Regions from separate parts of the Homo sapiens genome. Here regions 1, 2, 4 and 5 are each linked to region 3. Evidence: promoter capture Hi-C in 16 types of primary human blood cells and fetal thymus (Javierre and others, 2016). All regions are on one chromosome and are shown on one strand. Each heading gives the region's core, a stretch centred on a gene start or on the middle of the fragment in contact. The rest is flanking DNA. Distances are from core to core; before and after follow the strand shown.

Evidence for each region. The method cuts DNA at HindIII sites, captures the fragments that hold promoters and counts their contacts. A CHiCAGO score of 5 or more calls a contact.
Region 1: a contact is called between a fragment that was not itself captured here and the fragment with the promoter of MSMO1 in region 3, in 1 of 17 cell types (naive CD8 T cells). The highest score is 5.4, in naive CD8 T cells.
Region 2: a contact is called between a fragment that was not itself captured here and the fragment with the promoter of MSMO1 in region 3, in 1 of 17 cell types (total CD4 T cells). The highest score is 7.5, in total CD4 T cells.
Region 4: the fragment with the promoter of RAPGEF2 here is called in contact with the fragment with the promoter of MSMO1 in region 3 in 4 of 17 cell types (non-activated CD4 T cells, total CD4 T cells, fetal thymus and 1 more); the score reaches 11.0 in non-activated CD4 T cells.
Region 5: a contact is called between a fragment that was not itself captured here and the fragment with the promoter of MSMO1 in region 3, in 1 of 17 cell types (total CD4 T cells). The highest score is 5.1, in total CD4 T cells.

What each region holds. Positions count from the first base shown.
Region 1 is chr4:173,345,898-173,350,130 of GRCh38, forward strand. SAP30-DT (SAP30 divergent transcript) reads right to left here. Exons shown (of 4, transcript NR_183973.1): 4 at 3,334-4,233. Among named protein-coding and RNA genes, the nearest start is that of HMGB2, 14 kb to the left of the region's middle. The HindIII fragment of the contact is 4,926 bases long and covers 1-4,233 here.
Region 2 is chr4:173,324,808-173,328,787 of GRCh38, forward strand. No RefSeq gene overlaps it. Among named protein-coding and RNA genes, the nearest start is that of HMGB2, 7.6 kb to the right of the region's middle. The HindIII fragment of the contact is 5,987 bases long and covers 1-3,980 here.
Region 3 is chr4:165,325,545-165,329,597 of GRCh38, forward strand. MSMO1 (methylsterol monooxygenase 1) reads left to right here and starts at 2,125. Exons shown (of 6, transcript NM_006745.5): 1 at 2,125-2,220. RefSeq lists a silencer at 1,724-2,063 and an enhancer at 2,154-2,423. The HindIII fragment of the contact is 2,277 bases long and covers 681-2,957 here.
Region 4 is chr4:159,101,210-159,105,751 of GRCh38, forward strand. It overlaps RAPGEF2 (Rap guanine nucleotide exchange factor 2), which reads left to right and starts at 1,870. Exons shown (of 30, transcript NM_001394067.2): 1 at 1,870-3,022. The coding sequence starts at 2,954. RefSeq lists an enhancer at 1,020-1,711 and silencers at 1,360-1,899, 2,030-2,249, 2,290-2,579, 2,328-2,622, 2,590-3,009. The HindIII fragment of the contact is 5,553 bases long and covers 1-4,542 here.
Region 5 is chr4:158,664,795-158,668,982 of GRCh38, forward strand. C4orf46 (chromosome 4 open reading frame 46) reads right to left here. Exons shown (of 2, transcript NM_001008393.4): 2 at 1,881-4,188. Among named protein-coding and RNA genes, the nearest start is that of C4orf46, 5.0 kb to the right of the region's middle. The HindIII fragment of the contact is 3,210 bases long and covers 1,059-4,188 here.

The DNA of each region.
Region 1 (4,233 bases), core at 1,178-3,677, 8.0 Mb after region 3:
TATCACCGGTTATAACATTCATCACTATCTGTAATTATATATATATTTGTTAGCCTATTAGTTTAGTATCTGTAACCTTGCCTAGACCTCCAGAGGGTAGAGACATGCTCCTTTTCTTCTCCCTTAATAAAGCATTTGGTACATAAATCCCTGTAAGTTTGAATCAGAATGAATGAACGAATTAATGAAAGGCAGTGATTTTATTTGAAAGCAGTCTTCAGATTCCAAGCTGGCCTTTTTTCTTTTTTTCTGTCTTTCCATGTAACAGAGTGATGTATGATTGCAGCTTTCATCACTTTGGTGACCTAGATACTCAGATATTTTTATGATCCCCTCAAAATTAGTTCTAAATAGATTTTTACTGCATTCCTAGGATGACAGAAAATGGGAAAAATATCTAAGGAATTTTCCTTGACACCAAAATAAGTCAGAGGGTGGGGGCGGAGGATGAGGATTGGTAGGGATACCAATCATCAGCTAGACTCAGGCATGGTAATTTGAGTGGTAAGTAAACCTGGGAAGCAAATTAGCCATGAAAACAAATGCCCAAAGCAGAAGTTTGAATTGTAATCTTTACCTATAGGCCCACAAAAAGGAAAGGAAACCAAACTGGATACTACATTAAGCTGGGACTCCTTAAAGAAACTAAAATGGTAGCATACTTTGTCTCTTGGCAGAAACAGATGGAAATCCTTACTGAGGGAAAGCATCTTACTTTAGAAATATCACAGATTGATGGAATAAATATAAGTACAAAATTAGAGATGACCAGGCACGTGAAGAAGCAAGCCACCATTGAACACCCAAGGAATTCAGATATTTACAATTGTTAGATTCAGAATACAAACATTTTTAATAAGAAAAAGGATGAAATTAGAAAGATGAGGAAGCAACAGGTATCTATCAGGAATGACAAAAAAGTTCTGAAAACAACCAAATGGATCTTTGAGAAAGAAAAAAACATAGTTGTTGAAATTTTAATGAATGAGCTACACAGATGAGATAAAGCTAAAAATAAAATTAACATATTTTGCTGAAGAAATTAGACTGAATCACAGAAGAATGAGATGAACAATATTTTAAAAATAAAACAGAAACATTGGAAATAGAATAATGTTTATCAATATTGCAATATGTTTAATTAGTCCTAGAAAAAGGAAATAGAGAAAAGCACAAAGTGGCACTATTTTAGTATTTTTGATGCATTTTTTTCACAGTGAATGATATGAATTCAAATTTAGGAAGCATAAAGTAACCCAAGTAGCTTAATAAAAAGAAATCCACAATAACTTCAAGGTGAACTTGCAGATGTCAAATATATATGTGTGTATGTATATATATATATATATATATATATATATATATGTTTTTTTTCTTGAGAAAAAGTCTTGCTCTGTCGCCCAGACGGTAATGCAGTGGCACCATCTTGGCTCACTGCAACCTCTCCCTCCTGAGCTCAAGTGATTTCTTGTGCCTCAGCCTCCAGAGTAGCTGGGGTTACAGGTGTGCACCACCACACCCAACTAATTTTTGTATTTTTAGTAGAGATGGGGTTTCACCATGTTGGCCAGGCTGGTCTCAAACTCCTGACCTCAGGTGATCTGCCCGCTTAGGCCTCCCAAAGTGCTGGGATTGCAGGTGTGAGCCACCATGCCCAGCCCAAAAAATAATTTTAAAAGAGCCACAATGCCCAGCCCAAAAAATAATTTTAAAAGAAGCAAGAGAGAAAAGAAAGCTCACCTACAAAGGAAAACAGTTATACTGATGGCAGACTTCTCAGCAGCAACAGTGGAAGCTGGAAAACAGTGGAAAAATACCTATAATATAAAGTGCTGAGAGAAAATAACTGCCATTCTTGAACTGCAAGACTATGAGCAGGCCAGGTGTGGTGGCTCAGGTCTGTAATCCCAGCAATCTGGGAGGCTGAGGTGGGAGGACTGCTTGAGGCCAGGGGTTCAAGACCAGCCTGGGAAACATAATGGGGCACTCATCTCTACAAAAAATACAAATGTCAGCTGGGCATGATGGAAGGCACCTGTAGTCTCATCTACTCATGACACTGAGGCAGAAGGGTCATTTGAGCCCAGGAGATTGAGGCTGCAGTGAGCTACGATCTCATCCCACTGCACTCCAGCCTGAGCAATAGAGCAAGACCTTGTCTCAGAAAAGCTATGTGGGCAAATAAAAATTTTAAGGAAAATTGAGAGACTATCAACATACTAGCCCTAAAGGGACTACTAAATTATGTACTTCAGGAAGAAGGAAAATAATCCTAGAAAGACAGTATGAATAAAAGGAAGAGTGAGCATTATTTTTTAAAAAGGTAAACAGAGCTGCTGGTATAAGAAAAGGAAGGTAGATAAGTAGAAAACAGAAGCACAGAGAAATGGGAAAGTGCAAACTACAAAAAAGACCATCAGAAATAAATGCAACAGTGTGATTTCTTACATTCATGTAACTCCAGTCATAGAAAGTAAAGAGAGAAAATAGGGGAAAGGTATATTTGAAGATATAATAGCCAAGATTTATCTACAACTGATAAAAGACAGTTATTGTAATAAAGAAGTGTATAAACTAAACCTAAGTCTCACACCTTACACAAAAATTAACTCAAAATAGATAATAGTCTTAAATGTAAAATGTAAAACTACAAGACTTTTAGACAAAACATAGGAGAAAATCTTTGGGATACAAGCATAAAGAAAGAGTTCTTAGACTTAACATACGGCAATAGCATGATCTATGTAAGGAAAAACTGAACTTTATCTAAACTAATACATTTTCCTCTGTGAAAAGCATTAGGAGTAGTAAAAGGCAAATTACAGACTAGAAGAAAATACTTGCAAACCACATATCTGACAAGGAACTAATATCTGTAATATATAAAGAACTCTCAAAACTCAATAAAAGTCCAATTAGAAAATAAAAAAAAGACATGAACAAAAACTTACCATAGATGGTTTACAGATGGCACATAAGCAAATGAGATATTCAACATCATTAGCAATTAGGAAAATGCAAATTAAAACACAATGCCATATCACCATACACCTATCAGATTGGATAAAATAAAAATAGTGACAACACCAAATACTGGCAAGGATGCAGAGAAGCTGGATCACTCATGCATTGCTGCTGGGAATGTAGAATGATACAGCCACTGTGGAAAATAGTTTGCAATTTCTTAAAAACCTAAACATGAAACTGCCCCACAGCCCAGCAATTGTACTCTTGGAAATTTACCTCAGAAAAATGAAGGACTTTCTCCAAAGGTAAGTAGGGAGAAAAAAAGAAAGAAAAATACAGACTTACATTTTCACAAAAACCTATACATTAATGTTTATAGCAGCTTTATTCATAATATCCCCAAACTAGAAACAACCCAGATGTCCTTCACTGGGTGAATGGCTAAACAAACTGTTCTAAATCCATACCATACTACTCAGCAATAAAAAGGAACAAATTACTGATACATGCAACAGCCTGGATGAATCTTCAGGGAGTTACATTGAGTGGGGGAAAAAAAAATTCCAGGCCAGGCACAGTGGCTTATGCCTGTAACCCAACACTTTGGGAGGCTGAGGCGGGCAAATCATGAGGTCAGGAGATCAAGACCATCCTGGCCAACATGGTGAGACCCCATCTCTACTAAAAATACAAAAATTAGCTGGGTGTGGTGGTGCACATCTGTAGTCCCAGCTACTCTGGAGGCTGAGGCAGGATAATTGCTTCAACACGGGAGGTGGAGACTGCAGTGACCTGAGATCGCACCACTGCACTCGAGCCTGGCGACAGAGCGAGACTCCGTCTCAAAAAAGAAAAAAAATTCCAAAGGTTACATACTATATAAGCCCATGCCTTTTTGTATATTTTGTCTTGAAATGACAAAATTATAGAAATAAAGAACAGCTTAGTGGTTGCCAGGTGTTCAGAAGGCAGTGGGGACGGGAGGGAGTGGGTGAGGCAATAAAAGGGCAATTTGAGGGATCCTTGTGGTGATGGAAATGTTCTGTATCTTGACTGTATCAATGTCAATTCCTGGTTATGATACTGTACTACAGTTTTGCAAAATATTGTCATTGGAGAAAATGGGGTAAAGACACAGTGTCTCTCTGTAATGCTTCTTACAACTGTATGACAATATGCAATTAAGAGTAAAAGTTTAATTTTAAAAACTATAATAACAAGCTACTGGAGGGGGGCATTGAAAGATAAAAATAATTTGTTAAAGTG
Region 2 (3,980 bases), core at 234-2,733, 8.0 Mb after region 3:
AGCATTATGAAACTGTGATGTGATAAGTGCATCTTGAAGAATATCTAAGATATTGTATCCTTCAAATTACCTTTAAATGAAATTTCTCTTGGGCTTTTGGTTTGAGCAAATAAACCACAGCTGTATTAAGAATTAACTAACCGAAACAAAACTAAATATTTGAATAGAAAATAGGGATGAATAGACTTCCACTTCCGGCTATAATTTTAAGTGGACTTATCTTGCTACCCCAAACAACAGTTAATGCTGGACAAAATATATGAAGCAACTGTTTTCAGGAATTGGATACTAGTCAAAGCAGACTGATATCTAAAAGAAAGGAAATACACAAGGTGAATCCCAGGTTCACCATGTCTGTCTCCATGGGAGGACATTCCCAACCATGGTGCAAGGAATGCGGCTCAGAATGGTGGTATTGCTGAACTGAGGAGGCGGAGTGGAGGTTTCCGGCTGCTGAAACAGCTAGAATCTACAATCCAGGTTATTGGAGGGGAAGTACGCTTGAGTGTCAGGAGAGCTATACAGGAATTTTTATACCACAGCCATTTGCAATAGCGAAAACCCTGGAAGCAACCTAAATGCCCATTGACAGGAGAAAGGATGAATTGTGATATAATCACACAATGGAATATTACAGAGATGAATATGAATAAACTAGTTGTTATAAACAAGTTTTAGGTGTACAGGATTGAATGAAAAAGGCACTTCCCAAAACACTTTATTCAGCACTTTTTATCAATCTCAAAAGTGACTAAAAGTAAACATACAGTATGTTAATACATTTATACATGATAGGTTAAATAACTTGTCCAAGTTCACAAATTTAGTACTGGGGTCAAGGACATAATCAAGTCCAGTACTCAATATCCCTCTAACTCTGTGGGATGAATATTTATTTGGTGCCAGGAAAAACTCTCCTAAAGAATGTATGTTTTCCACATAACTTCTTTAATTTTCCTCTCTACCTAGACTATCAAGAACCTCAGGGCTGGAACAGTGGCTCACACCTGTAATCGCAGCACTTTGGGAGGCCAAGGGGAGAGGACTGCTTGAGTCCAGGAGTTTAAGACCTGCCTGGGCAACATAGCCATGTGTGGTGGCACACATCTGTGGTCCCAGCTGCTTGAGAGGCTGAGGCAGAAGAATCGCTTGAGTCTGGAAGGTGAAGGCTGCAGTGAGCTAGAACTTTATCTAATACTCCATCGTAGTATCTGTATTAACCCATGTATATCGGCATATATACTTTTAGCTAATATTTATCGAGCATTTACTATTTCTTGCCACCAGGATAAGTGTCTTAAATGTATTACTTTACTTAATCCTCAAAAACATTCAAATTTTACAGATGAGGAAACCGAAATGTTACATGAGTTGTCTGATGTTACAAAACCAGTAAGAAAAACAGAGCCCTATTCAAATCCGTGATTCACTACCTTGCTTTTAATTTCTTTCATAACCTTGTTTTTTTCTTTGTATATTTTGTTCTTGTTTTTCTTTGTATAAGCCATTAATATTTTTTGGAAAAAATTTGGAGAATCAAAGAATTACACAAATATGAATGGATTATGGTATTTTACTATCTCTTATCTGCCCGAGGACAATGTCCAAGTTGATTGTCCTGCTTTTCTAATGAAAGACTAGATGATATAAAGGCCATTTCCAGTTCCAAAATTTAGTGCTACATAATGCTGAAAAGTTATTTTTCTTTCCTTTTAATGCGACAGTCTATTGCACTCCTGAGTTACTATTCTATAGATGTGGTAACACCTAGGATGAGGATCACCAGAAGTCTGCACTGTTAACTCTTGAAGAATAAAGGCCCAGGAGCACAATGAAGTTCAATTGAAACATTTTTATTTACCTTTGCTGCAGGGTAAGTTGAGTTTCCAATCAGGGCAAGAAGGGTTTCTGACCTATAAAAACAATGGTTAGCTGTAAGGCATATATAAACTTTTATTAACCTTGGACCTGACTCAAGTAAAAATTATTACACTTATATTTACTATTTAATTTATAGAAGTGGCAAACTGGTGACCTTTGGGCAGAATCTTACCTATAGACATGTTTTGACCCCAAAATTGGAATTCATTGCCAATACTGTATTTAAAATTCAGAATTCACGAGTTCTAGTTCCACTTGAAAATTTGAGAGATCTGGGAATCCTATATTCACATTTCCATCTAGCAACAGGACTGAGCTAAACAGTGGCTATCCCCTTTAACCTGGGTATTTGTATATTTACAAACATGCTTAGAACACTGTTTCTTGCATTAGAGACAAAGCAGTATACAAAAGTGAAAATTTTACTGCCCTCACAGAGCTTACTTTCAAAATGTTCTTCACTTCACCACATCCAGTCCTTTTCCCTGGCTAGTCTCTATAGGTCTTGGCATTTCCTAATGTCAATAAATACTCTGCCTTTCTCTAAAACTGTCAGTCTCCAACAGGAATCTCATGAAGAACTAATCCAAACATGGTGAGGTATGAAATTTCATTTTTAAAGGACTAGATCTTACACAGTGGCATAGCAGCTCCTTTAGCTTTCTTGATTTTATTCCCCAAGAAATAAAATCATTACTGCTTTGTAAAGCATTTTTAGTGATATATTTAGTAATAAAAAGCCAGGTTTAAGATAATGCTATTTTTCTACTATGTAAGACAACCTTATGATTTACAGTAAGTGAAACTGGTAAAAGGTAAAATACAAAAAAAGCATACTTTCCTCTATTGATCAAGTTTGCAGTGAGTGCTTTGTTTGATATATAAGAGAATTTAGGAAATTCTAACCCAGTGCCCTGCTTTTATAGATTAAAAGACCAAAAGTAGTGGCTGACATCGGGAAGGAAACGTGAGCCCCTACCTCAGTCCTTGCACCAAAATTAATTCCAGAAGGATCAAAGATGTAATCAAAAATTTAAAAAAAGAAACCAAAGGATAATTATTTTTATAGTCTTTTATGATCTTTGAGTGGGAAGGACCTCACTAGAAAAGTTTTAGTGAAAGAATTGCTAAATTTGCCTACATAAAGAAATCTCTGCATGAAAAAAGCATCATAAAGTCAAAAGGGTCATTTTCCTTAATATATAGTATTCCCAAAAACTATTAATAAAAAGACCAGTGAGAAAAGACCACAGGAAAGAATACAAATGGCTTTTTTTTTTTTTTTTTTTTTTTTGAGACAGAGTCTTGCTCTTGTCACCCAGGCTGGAGTGTAGTGGCGTGATCTCTACTCACTGCAAACCTCTGCCTCCCGGGTTCAAGCGATTCTCCTGCCTCAGCCTCCCAAGTGGCTGGGATTACAGGTGCCCATCACCACACCCGGCTAATGTTTTTGTATTTTTAGTAGAGACAGGGTTTCACCATGTTGGCCAGGCTGGTTTTGAACTCCTGACCTCAAGTGATCCGCCTGCTTCGGCCTCCTAAAGTGCTGGGATTACAGGCATGAGCCACTGCACTCAGCCCCACAAATGGCTGTTAAACATAAAAAAAAAATGAAACTCATAATAGAAAACATTTTATCTATATCAGAATAACAAAGACTAAGAAGTTTGAGAACTATTATGTTGCTGAGATGAGGAAACAGGCACTCCAAAACATTTCATTGCTATGGAGTGTCCACTCCATAGCGTAGTACAACTTCTATTGTTGAGAAGCAGTTTTGTTTAGCAGGCTCCATTAACAGCACCAGAGCAGTTTCTGGCATATATTAAGCACAGGTTTTAGCTAGTATAGTTAGCACATTTTTAAATGTGCATGTCTTTTGGCCCACCTACTTCACTTGTAGGTCTTTTTTCACATGTGACATCAAATGGTTTCGTTTTTTTCAGACCAAGTCTTGGTCTGTTGCCCAGGCTGGAGTGCGATGGCATGATCACAGCTCATTATAGCCTAGACATCCCAGGCTCAAGTGATCCACCTCAGCCTCCTAAATAGCCAGGACCACAGGCATGCACCACCATGCCCGGCTAATTTTTGTATTT
Region 3 (4,053 bases), core at 875-3,374:
CAAAGTAGCCCTACATTGGTTTAGGGGATTTTATACCCGTTTCAACCAGTTACTTGACTAGCTGTTGCCTAGAAAGGGGGTATACCCGTGGGGAGAGGTGCTTCTCTTTGGCAGTACTCAGCAGCTGGAGGAATGCCTGCTTAGGTCTTGAAGAGGGGGATCTGGGTGGTGTGCCACAGCATCCACTACAGGACCAACAGATTCATATGCCCACTGCACAGTATACACTGAGACAGCAGGGTTTGCAGAAGAGAAAGAGTTTAGTGATGGCAGGGTGCCGAGAGGAGATGGGAGGAAACCCTCAAATTCATCTCTCTGAGGAGTTCTGTGCTGGGGCTTTTAAGGGGATCCTGGAGGGCAATGGGCTGGAAAATTAGGGTCCTCGATTGGCTGGGGTAAGGAGGAATGAAACCATCAGGATGTGGGAACTGCATTCTTTGGTGAGTCAGCTCCTTGTCAGACCAGCTGAGTCAGTAGTTTCATCAGTACGAAGGACCTGAAAGGTTATCTCAAAGCACAAACTTAACGTTTCATAATGTTCAAGTTGTTGTCTATAGAGCAGTTAGGGGAAACTATAACCTTGTAACAGAGTCTACATGATTCTGAAGCAATAGGCAAACAATTATGAGGAAGGGGTCAGACAGCAAGCTGACCTAATTATTAATCCTCAGTGTGCTGCAAGCTTGGTTTAATTTCGTTCCCCCCACCCCTTTTTCCCAGATTAACTTCATAAAGTATATAGGCATGGTTTCAGACACCACTGTAAAGGCATCCTAAAGACAGGGCTGACTCTGACAACCAAGGGACAGATCCCATTTCTTTTCATTTGACGTGACCGCTGTCATGATACTTTACAAAGAATGTGTGTGCCAAACATGAGGGATAGACGAATAAGTACAGGTCACACTGAATCTAAAAAAGACACTTTTCAAGAGGGAACTTCCTCAAGGAGATAGTACCTGAATTGATGGGGCGGCATGGAGATGGCTGATTATTCCAGGCAGAAGGGCCAGTTTGAGCAAAAGCATGGAGGAATGAAACAATAGTATTCTGTTTTCAGAAGCTGTATATATTTGACACAATATACACATAATCAAAACATGTGTACGCCGTAAACACAATTTTTGTCAATTATACCTTAATAAAGAAGGAGGAAAAAGGGCCTTCACTAGCCCAAATGATGCCCCTGTGCGGTTTTTTCTTTAAAGGCACCTCTTCCGTTAAGTGAAAGTTTTAGTATATTATCACATCTGTACAGTTTTATTATTAAACCCCAGTACACAATATTTTAATGTTGAGAGATGGTGTAAACTGAGCTTTAGAGCTGCAAAGACCTGCGTCAAGCCCCCGCCCCCGCCCCCGCCCCCGGGCACTCATCGTCCAGCACAACAATTGCAACAACACCTGGGCGTTCTCTGCCCATGTAGCGAGGTCAAGGTCCTGGGAGCCGAACTCTCCCTTGATGTTCAATCTTTTTAAATCTTTCCCAGCCTTTATTTCTCATCTGCAAAATGACGATAATCGCATTTGAAATTCTCCGTTTTCAAAATGCAGGAATTTATTAAAGGATACGTAGGCTGGGGAAACAAGGGAGACGAAAGATCTAAATCTAAATGGTAGACCAGAAAAAGGAAGGCAAGGGTGTCTGGAAACACAAAACAGTCAACATAGATTTTAAGACTCATCTATACTCTCTTCTTCCCGGGTTTGGGAACTGCGGTTGCTACACAGGTCACATTTGAAATAAAAGTCCTGGGACGGCGGCCGGCGCGACACTCTCCCCCGCACAGCGCAGGCTCTCACTGGGAATCTGCCGGGACCGCAGTTGCCAAGGCGACTCCGCGCTGCAGGGCGAGGCGGCCATCCGTCTGTGCCCGCCCCCTCACGCCGTGGCGCGCTCTCACGCTTCCCCGCCTCCGGGCGCTCCGCGGTGCCGACCATTGGCTGGCTCTGCAGGTCTCACTATCCTCACTCCATCCGCGGAGCCAATGGCTGGGACCGCCAGGAGCTCGTTCGCGCGAGTCACACGATGTCGGCAACTGCACAGACCAATCACCGCGCCGAGAAGGCGGGGCGGGAGCTCTCGCAGGCCAATAACGACAGGACGGGCCGCCTGGCCCACCCGGCTCCACCCCCAAGCCAGGCGAGGCAGGTTCCGAGGTTGGAACACCTGGCGAGTCCTCGGTGTCGGTGGCCGGCAGTCATCTCGCGGCCGTTCAGGTGAGGGGGTTGGAGGAGTGGCTCATGAGCGAGGAAGGGGGAGCAGGCGGGCTCCCACCCGGTGCTCCGTGAGATCGAGGGGAGCGGGTTCTGGGTGCGGATGCACGCGCTGGGCGGGACGCTGGCAGTGGTACCCGAGACGGGGCGGAAGGAGACTGGAGTGAAGGTGGGCCTAGGCTAAGGTACGTGCTAGAAAGGATGAAAACGGAGTGAAATTCTTAAGTGATGGAACTAGGCTAGGGCATGTTTCTTGCCCTTTAAAATGTGTTGTCTTCGGGAGACAGGACGTAGAAGATAGTTGCAGCACAGGGTGATAGGCTGGCGAAAGTTATACAAAAGCAGGAACCACTAGAAGGAGGTAAGATGTAGTGTGCTTTGGGAGTAGTGGGGTTGGGAAGGGCGTCCGAGAGGAGGTTACTGAAGGATGACTAGGAGTTGAATGGGAGGACATCACCTGTAAGGGAACGATATTTCCGTGGGCAGAGAGGAATGAAGCAGTAGCAACCATGAGTGATCAGATACTGCAAAAATGTGAAGTGTAGGATGGCGAGAATGTAAGAAATGAAGAGTGAAGAAGTCTGGAAGGGCCTCGTGTGCATCAATCACAGCGGGGCTTGATCTTTATGCTTAGGGCAAGCACTCCCTTGAACTTTGAGTGTTTTAAGGAGGTTATCTCTGATGTTTAAATTTATATAGATCGTGGCATTGCATCTTAGAAATAAGGTTTAGGAAGGGCAAGCTTGGAGGCAGGGCAAGTCCAGAAAATGAAGGAGCTGGTGAAATCCGTGTTAAAGTGCCAAAGGACAGAGACTGGCTGACAGCTAAACTTCAAGGTTTCTGAGAATCCACAAATAACTAAATTTATCTAGTCAACCTGTTCCAGAACAGGCTTCCAGTCATTTAGGTTGCCCAAGAATGAGTAAAGGAAAAGGAAATTCAATTTTCCAAGACCTTGTTTCCCCTCTCCTCTTTAATTCCTTGTTCGGTTAGCAACAGTATATCCATTCCCTCGCTCCTTTGTGAAAAGTAAATTCCTGAATGTTAACTAAACCAAGTGTTTCTAAATTGGGTAAGAGTTTGAAGACTTAAGGCAGCAGAATGGGAGAGACTTAAAACGTTATGTCTGAGAATTAGGCATTAAAGGAGGCCTAGTATTTGGGCGGGGGTTGTGAGGAGCACATACTGAACCTTTGGACCTGTTGAGTGAGTTCATGTGCCTCTGAACTCTCTGACTGGATATGACCAGTAAACTTGGATAATTAGATCCTGGAGTTTAGGGGAGAGGGCTAGAGATAGAGATGATGGATGTCAGCATATTTTTAAAACAGAAAATAGTTAAGATCACCCAAGACAATCTGGAATCGTTAGAAGGGAGTAAGGAAGGCATTATTGGGAAACTTTCCAGCTTCAATTCTCATATTTTTTCTAATCTCCTGGTTGAGTCTTTGGAGTTGCTGTTCTCTCTATGCAAAACCCCTCCCTTGACCCTCTCTCCCTCACTCTATTTTTTAATTTGTCACCTCCTTCTCCTGTTCTAGGTCTCAGTTTAGATAGCACCTTTCTCTAGAAGTTCATAGCACTGTGTATTCCCCCCTTTATTGTTCTTATCACATAATTTTTGATGGTTTGGACACTAGTTGTTATTCCTCACTAAATTTTATGTTTTATGAACTCAGGGGTAAGGGCACCAGCTAGCACAATGAATGCACAATACTTGTCAGAGTGAATGCATTTAAGTTCCAAGAACCAAGGAAAGGCGGTATTTCAAGAAGAGAAGTATCAAATCTTCCAGATTAGTCAAATAAACTCCAAAAAAAAAAAAAAAGGTTTATT
Region 4 (4,542 bases), core at 620-3,119, 6.2 Mb before region 3:
TGAGAAGGAGTGAAAAGAATTCACACTTTGGCTGCTGTGTTGGAAATGAACTGTATGGCAAGCAAGGTTAGAAAGAGGGGGACCAGGTGGGTGGTTATGACAAAGTGCTGGCCAGACATGATGCTGGATTGCACCAGGGTCATGGCAGTAGAAGTGGTAGATAAAGGTTAGAGTTCAGATATGGCATTCTGGAGGTTGAGCTGACGATTTTTACTGACACTTTTGAGGTATAACAGAAAGAAAGGAGTCAAGGAAGTCAACGTTTTCACCCAGGAAGTGAGAATGGTGTAGATGTGATTAACAGAGGATGGGGAAGGCTGTGGGTGTCTGAGACAGGAGATCTGGAGCCTGGTTTGCACATGTGAATTCTGAGATGTCTATTAGACACCAGGTGGAGATGTCAGTTATATTTTTTCACTTCATTGGGTTTGAATTCTTTTATCTGCCTCTCTCCTTTTTTCAGAGCTGTATTGGCACTTATTCATGTTCCTTTGCTTTCAAGGTAGTGGCCTATGTCATAGAGAATTTGATGTTGGCGCTCAACTAAGAGGTGAAAGAGAAATATAGAGAAGCAGTTCCAGCAAGAGTAATATAAAAAGGTCTACAGATACAATTTGTAACTCAGATTCCCTTTCACAAGGTTGGGCAGGGACAGTCCCTTTGCTAGGAAGTCACACAAGCTGTTTAGTGCACACAGGTGACTTAAGGAACCCCAAAATGTTAGCTGACAATCTATTCCAAGTGTTTAAACTAGATGTTGAAAATCATGTTTGAAAAGTTCAACGCAGTAGCTCATACATAAAACTCATTGTGTCTATAGATATCAAAATAAGAACTTGTGGGGGGTGGGGGCAAACAAAAATAAATCCCTGGGACCAGAACAGCAGAGTGGTCCCCGATGCTTGGGCTGACCTTAACACACCTCTACGTGGCCGGGGCAAGGAGTGGGGGGGAGCTGAGGGAATCAGCAGGAGCGGTGACATCTTGAAGGACGAGGTATTGTTTCTGCACCATGTGGGTCCGGTTTGGAAATTTGAGCATCTAGAGGAGGAGGCTTGTTCTGTCCAAGGCAAAGCCAGACCTACCAATAAATGTTTCTGATTATGTCACAGAACTTGCCATCCTGGTCTGTCGCTAAGGAGTGATCAACTTTAAATCTGGAGTGTTTGTTGGTCTAGGGGTGGTAGTGGGTCTGGTGTTGAAACCTCTCTGCCTAATTTCGTGGTCATTTTACTGTCTGAGGTGCCAGAGTGGGCTTGGAAAGCAGGGGAGGGTGCAGCAAATTACAAATAAGCAAAATAAATCCTAAGAGGATTTATCGCCACAGAAGCAACTCGGACGCAACTCTTGGGCTCAAAAAGAATGCCCAGTACAGCCCGGGCTGGTGGGCCGGTCTTTTGCCCAAGGTTAGCTTTCAGCCCCTGGGCGGCGGCGTGGCGCCAGGAGCGGGCGGGGAGCAGCGACCCGACGCGGCTGGGTCTCCTAGTAGGGCGCGTCGGGTGTGGGGAGGGGGCGCGGCGTGAGACAGTGGGGGACACTGCGTGAGGAAAGCCCTGCGCTTCTCTCCGGGGCACCAGGACTTGCGCCCCCTCTTCGGGTCCAGGCCGCGCGCGGGACCCGACAGCCCGGCCGAGGGCTCCGCGACCCACTTGCGGCCAGAGCGCTGCTCACCTGGGCGCCGCCGAAGGTGCCGCTCAGACGCGAGGGCGCGGCCGCTGGCGGGCGGGGAGCGGGGAGGCGGGACCCGGCGCGACGGGGCTGCCCCGCCCCCCGATGATGCGGCGGCCGCCGACTCGCCCCCACGCTGTCACTCATTCCTCACCATGGTTGCAGCACAAAGCAACAAGCCCCAGAGGCCGCTTCCTCCCTGAGGAGCGGCTCCGGCGGCCGGAGAAGGCGCAGGAGGAGGAAGAGGCGGAGGAAGAGGAGGGGAATCGCCGCTTCCCAAACACTCTCTCCGAGGGGGCTGTGCGCGGCTCTCGGCTTTCGGCCCTCGGACGCCCGCGCCGGGAGTCCGAACCCGGGCTGTCCGCGGCCCCCTCTTCCCCCTCCTCCGCCCCGCGCAGACGAGGAACAAAGTTGCCGAGAGCGACTGGGCCGGAGGGCTGCAGCCCGGGCCGGGTGCTCTGGCCGCGGCGGCGCCGGCGCCGGGGCAGCTCCGCTCCGGGCGCGCTGATGGGGGGAGGCGGCGGCGGCGGAGCCCACAGCGGCGGCCCGAGCAGCAGAGGCGGCGGCGGCGGCGGCTGGGCGGCCCGAGGGGATGCAGCAGCAGTCGGGAGGGACGGCCGAGCCCAGTAGACAGAGACCAGGAGCGGCGGCCGAGGCGATCGGGCTTCGCAGCGCCCGGACCTGAGCCAGACCCACCTGGTCCGTCCTCCCGACCGGCGGCCGAGGCGCCCGAGGACTGGGGACGCGGAAGATCCAAGTGATTCTCGGAGACCCCTGGGCGGCGGCTGCGCAAGCCCCTGAGAGGAGGGGGCGACCCTCAGCGCCGTGGGGGAGGAGGCTCCGCCTGCCCACAGCCCTCCCCACTGCCACTCGTACCTCCCTAAAAATAACTCGGGCCCGCTGGGGCCAGGAGGAGCCGCCACTGTCCCCCGAGTGGAGCCGGGGAGGCGTGTCGAGCCAGGGCCGGAGGAAGCCGGCGGAGCGGCGAGGAAGAGGAGGAGGAGGAGGAAGGGGAGTTCCGCCTGCGGGCCGCATCGCACGGCAGCCTAGGGGCGCCGCGACCCTCCCGGCTGCGTCCAGCCCCTCGCGCCTGTACCGCGCTCTCGGCCGCCGGGCCCAGCCGAGCCGCCCCCCCGCGGGCCCCGCGCCGCCGCCGCCGCGGTTTGGCTGATTAGTCGCGGGCGGGCGGGCGGGCGCAGCGCGCAGGGCGGAGGCAGCAGCGGCGCTGGGCCGGGAGGAGGCCGGCCAGGGTGCGGAGCGGCCCCGGCCCGCTCCCAGAGGGGAGATGGCGTCCTACGTAGATAACAGCTTCCGCCAGGCGGTGATGAAGAATCCCCCCGAAAGGACCCCCCAGGTGAGAACGCGGCGGCCGCCTGCCCTTGGCCGGATTTCTGCCTCGCAGGCTGCGTCTTCCCCTGTCCCCCCACCTCCTTCCTGACACAGTTCGCCCCGAGCACCCCACTTCTTGCATCAGGACCCCCAACTTCCAAAGGCATCCCACCTCCGAGTCTTTTACTCCGCCTATCCTGGTTTTATTTTTCCCTCTCCTTGACATTCTGCTCCTTAACTCTTCCCTCCCCATGACTGACCTTTCCCACTATGTTGCCCAGCCGAGAGAGAGAGAGAGAGAGAGAGAGAGAGAGAGAGAGGGAGAGACAGAGAGAGAGAGAGAGAGAGTGTGTGTGTGTGTGTGTATGTGTGTGAATGTGTGAATTCTCTAGCTTTCCCTCTCCCCAGCCGCCCTCCGTGGCCTCTGAATCTCAGGGGATGGAGTCTCATCTCCCCTCGGGCAGCGACTCTTGCTCCCTCTGACTCCAGATCCGTTCCTCCCCTTGCAAGTGACCCTTGGAGTTCAGTGGTGTTTGAAAGGTATAGGAGGAAACCTGTACGGTTGTGCTAAAGACAAATCCATGCTGACCTTCAGTAAAACATTGAGGTGTTTGTATGTTTACTGTTTTGCTTTTATTTTTTAAAGGATACTGCTTTCAATTGAAGGGAAAAAAAGTTGAATAGCTAAGTTAGTGCTTTTAGTTTAAATTGCAGACATAGCTGCAGAGCAGGCATGTTCCAGTACACCCTCGGGAAGGGCACCCTGCGGATTCTTTTGGTGTTGCACAACCTTGTCAAAATTAGATAAGTTTGTTAACCTTTATACATTTGTTTACCTGCAGGCTTACTCTTCTCTTACTTATAGCGGCTGATAGGGTTGGATTTGGTTGTCTCAAGTTTTACTGGAGAGGGGGAAATTTTATAAAAATGTGGTAGCTTAATTTTCTCCGCCTTTAGTTGCTGACTGGATAATGACGCATATTCCTAAGCGTTGGGATGGTGACTATAGGAGATCCTGCCTGCCAACCCTCTTAAGACAAATAAGCCCTCCTGATCCTTGGGACCATCAGACATTTAGGATCTAATGCTTGAAAGTGTTGCTTCGCTTGTTAGATGTTGGATGCCATCTGTTCAAATCCAAATGCTCTCCTTCTCTGATGTTGATTATTATTTACTGTGGGGAGAGCATAATAAAATAGACTCTTCCCCTGGCTGCCTTTGGACAAGCCCCAAGAGTGGCACCTGGTACCGTTTTTGATTTTTCATTTTCCTTGATGGAGCTGTCACATCTGGGAGATCATGGATAGATTGCACATATTTATCAAACGTGTGGAAGATGGCTGTAATTTTACAAGAAAATTTATCTGTCTCCAGAAAGTTCCCATTCTAAAAGACTATTTTTATCCCAACAAGGAATGTCCTGCATTGATCTTGTTCTTCTCTTGGTGTTGCACACGCTGCCTTTCCTATGCCTTTCTCATCTATTTGTTTTAAAATGGTCAGTTGGATCAGTCTTCTGCATCTGAAAATGCACATTCCCTGTCT
Region 5 (4,188 bases), core at 1,414-3,913, 6.7 Mb before region 3:
TAAGGTATCCTATTTAGAGGGGGGGATTGAGAGATGACAATGTGCTAGCAGCCCTGGCTCGCTCTTGGCGCCTCCGCAGCCTCGGTGTCCACTCTGGATGCACTGGAGGAGCCCTTCAGCCTGCCGCTGCACTGTGGGGGCCCCTCTCTGGGGCTGGCCGAGGCCGGAGCCGGCTCCCTCTGTTCACGGGGAGGTGTGGAGGGAGAGGCATGGGTGGGAGCTGGGGCTGTGCACGGTGCTTGCGGGCCGGCGTGGGTTCCAGGTGGGCTTGATCGAGGAACGAGCTCCCTCTGGGCTGCTGGAGTGCCTGGGCTAGGTGCCACGAAGTCCCACGGCAAGTGCCATCAAGAGGTGAAGCCGGCTAGGCTTCTGGGTCAGGTGGGGACTTGGAGAACTTTTCTGTCTAGTTAAAGGATTGTAAAGGCACCAGTCAGCACTCTGTGTCTAGCTAAAGGTTTGTAAACTCACCAATCAGCGCTCTGTCAAAACAGACCAATCAGCTCTCTGTAAAACGGACCAATCAGCTCTCTGTAAAATGGACCGATCAGCTCTCTGTAAAATGGACTAATCAGTAGGATGTGGGTGGGGCCAGATAAAGGAATAAAAGCAGGCCACCTGAGCCAGCAGTGGCAATCTGCTAGGGTCCCCTTCCATGCTGTGGAAGCTTTGTTGTTTCGCTCTTCACAGTAAATCTTGCTGCTGGTCACTCTTTGGGTCTGCGCCCCCTTTATGAGCTGTTAACACTCACCGCGAAGGTCTGCAGCTTCACTCCTGAAGCCAGTGAGACCACGAGCCCACCAGAAGGAACGGACAATTCCAGACGTGCCGCCTTTAAGAGCTGTAACACTCACCGTGAAGGTCTGCAGCTTCACTCCTGAAGTCAGCGAGACCACAAACCCACCAGAAGGAAGAAACTCCGGACACATCTGAACATCTGAATGAACAAACTCCGGACACACCATCTTTAAGAACTGTAACGCTCACTGCGAGGGTCCGCAGCTTCATTCTTGAAGTCAGCGAGACCAAGAACCACCAATTCCGGACATACAGGGATTACAAGCTTGAGCCACCGTGCCCCATCATAAAGCTCTTAATATAGTACCTGGCACATCTTTCAAACTCAGAATTTTTGAAACATAACACATTTTTTTTTATGTTAACAATTTCATCTTACTGACTTTAGTCTCGAGTCTAAAAAATTTACATAAGCTCGGCACAGTGGCTCATGCCTGTAATCCTAGCACTTTGAGAGGCCAAGGCAGAAGAATCACCTGAGGTCAGGGGTTCAAGACCAGCCTGGCCAACATGGTGAAACCCCATCTCTACTAAAAATACAAAAATCAGCCGGATGTGGTGGCGTGCACCTGTAATCCCAGCGAGGGAGGCTGAGGCAGGAGAATCGCTTGAACCGGGCAGTAGAGGTTGCAGTGAGCCAAGATCACACCACTGCACTCCAGCCTGGGCATCAGAGTAAGAATTTGTCTCAAAAAAAAATTTACATCATTCCTTTGGGGTTTTTGTAGGGCTGGTAATGGACCGTTTACTACGTTTAAAAAAAATTATTAAGTCTTTGAGGAAATATTTACGCTTTCAGCTCTTCCCCAACCTCTCCCATAAAGCAAACAGAAATGTAAAAAGGTCACTTTGTAAACTCTTAAAGTGCCCATAGAAAGCTCACTACCTGACACCAGCAGTTGTCCTAAGCTGACATAACTCAATAGAATTAGAAATCAGTAACATGTTTTTTCTTTTCTTACAGGGAAAGACAAATTGAGTTTTAGCATGGAGTTAAGCAAATAAATCTGTAGTGGAGGAAATACAATTTCTCCTCAAGCCTCATAAGTTCACAGTTGGGACAGATCCCTATAACAAAAGACAGATTAACAAGAGAAAAACAAGTAATTTTATTAATATATGCAACGTACATCACACAGGAGAAAACTCAATGAAAAGGTAAACACAAGTAGTGGCTTACAACTCTGGACTATATAGCATCTTCCACAAAGAATACATTTCAGAGAAGTGTGACAAGACGAAGGAAAGCAGTTTTAGGCTTCCAGAGGCAGAAACTGTGGAAGGTAAATATATGTTAAGAAACTAATAGTTTCTTGTTTGTAGATTCCTCTGGTGCTGTCTCAGCTGATTAGAGCCATCTTCTCATCTTGGTATCAGGAAAGCATCTTTATCAAAGAAGTTTGTATGGCTTGCTACAGGTAGGAAAGGACAGTTAAAATAGCCATTTCTGCAACTACTGTTAGTCAAGCACCTTTAGCTCGAAATAATCAGTATGCCAAATCGGCATATTTGGGGGTGGCATGTTCAAATTTCCTTCAGATAAAAAGAACAGAAAGGTCAGAATCTGGCCCTTACATAGTAACTGCATGACAGATGTTGCACTTGAAAAATTGATACTTGGAGGAACAGCTATAAATATGTAAAAATAATTAAAACAAGATTCCAAAATCATGCCATAAAAGAAAACAAATTTCAGTTGGACTAAACATCTAAATGTTAAAAACAAAAATTTTGTAACTTTTGGAAGGCTGAATAGGACTATTTTTATGACATTTCCTATACAAAAACCAGAAAAAGCAAATCATTATGAAAGATTGGTAAAATTACGTTTTTAAAAATTCAAGATTTCATAACCAAAATATGAAGACAAACCAGACTAAAAAAGATAATTGGAACATACATAACAGATCATTAGTATTCAAAATATGTAATATCTAAAAACTGACAAGTAAAAAAAACAACATAGAAAAATGAGCAAAAATGCCTGTAATCCCAGTGCTTTATAGGAGGAGGCGAGATGGGAGGATTGTTTGAGTCCAAGTTTAAGGTTACAGTGAGCTATGATCCTGCCACCACACTCCAGCCTGAGCAATAGAGTGAGATCTTGTCTCTTAAAAAAAAAAAAAAGAGTAAAAGATATGGCCTCAGAAATCACACACTGCATTTGCTCAATATCCTGGTAGTTACAAAAGTCAGCACTGTAAAATGCAGGAGAAGGCTATACTGGGGCATGAACACCAGGAGGCCAGGGATCACTGGGGCCATCTGGAAGCTGGCTACCACATATATAAAACAATATTTTGTAGCGCTTTTAAAAAATATATTTGTATTAAAAATATAAAAACACATGCTATATTATGCCCCCTCTAGTGGTTACCTCTGGGGACTCTGGGGAGGGAGGAACGGGACAGGATCAAACAGGTAACAAAGCAAACTTCAAATGTATCTAACATTTGCAATTACATGCATATGTGTGTCTGAAGAAAATATAGCCAAATGCTAACATTTATTACATCTGCATGGTAGAAATACACGGATTTTCTTGAAATCATTTACCTTTCCTATATCTTTGAAATATGTCAATAAAGTTTTAAGGTAATGAATCCAAACAAATGGAAATAAAATGTGCTTTTAATAATAATTTATTTTTACACATTTTAAAAATTGCAATTTTCAGGAGATGTAAGAAGAATATTTTTCTAATACTGAAATAAGCATATCTTTGGTATAGAAATCACACCCTATGTGTTTATCTTTAACTAAAAAAACTAATCAAGAACTATGACCTAATATGTTAAACAAAACTATTCTTTGCCCATCCATCTGTCCCCTCTCATAGCCCCATTGTGGGGCATTAGAATATAGTTCTGTACCTATCTCCATATCTACAAAGAATTAAGATGTTGTATCAAAAATGTCCAGAAGTTATATATGGTAGAGAATTAGTTGGCTTAATCGTTGACACACAACACAAAACACCAAAAGCAACATAAGATACAGGATGCAAAATAGAACACTGTCACTAAGATCAAATAATACAAAAAAAATCACATCATTTAAATTTGATGCATTGCAAACAAAGTAACTTCTTTAGAATTATTATGTACACAACTTGCAAAGCTCAAAAAGTAATAGCACAGAGCCATAAATCTGATAAGGCACTTTAAAGATAGCAATCAAACATATACAAATATCAAATACAAACACTGTTAAACTGCAAAAGCAGTAACCACAGAAATAAATAGGGAAAAAATATGCATTCTTTCTAAACAGTCTTTCCCTTTCTGAAGTAAAGTCTTTAAAAAAAAAATCAAACAAGTACAAAAAATATTTATCATATATTTTTAAAACCTATCATCAAAGTCCAAATCTCTGTAAAAAAAGAATGTTTTT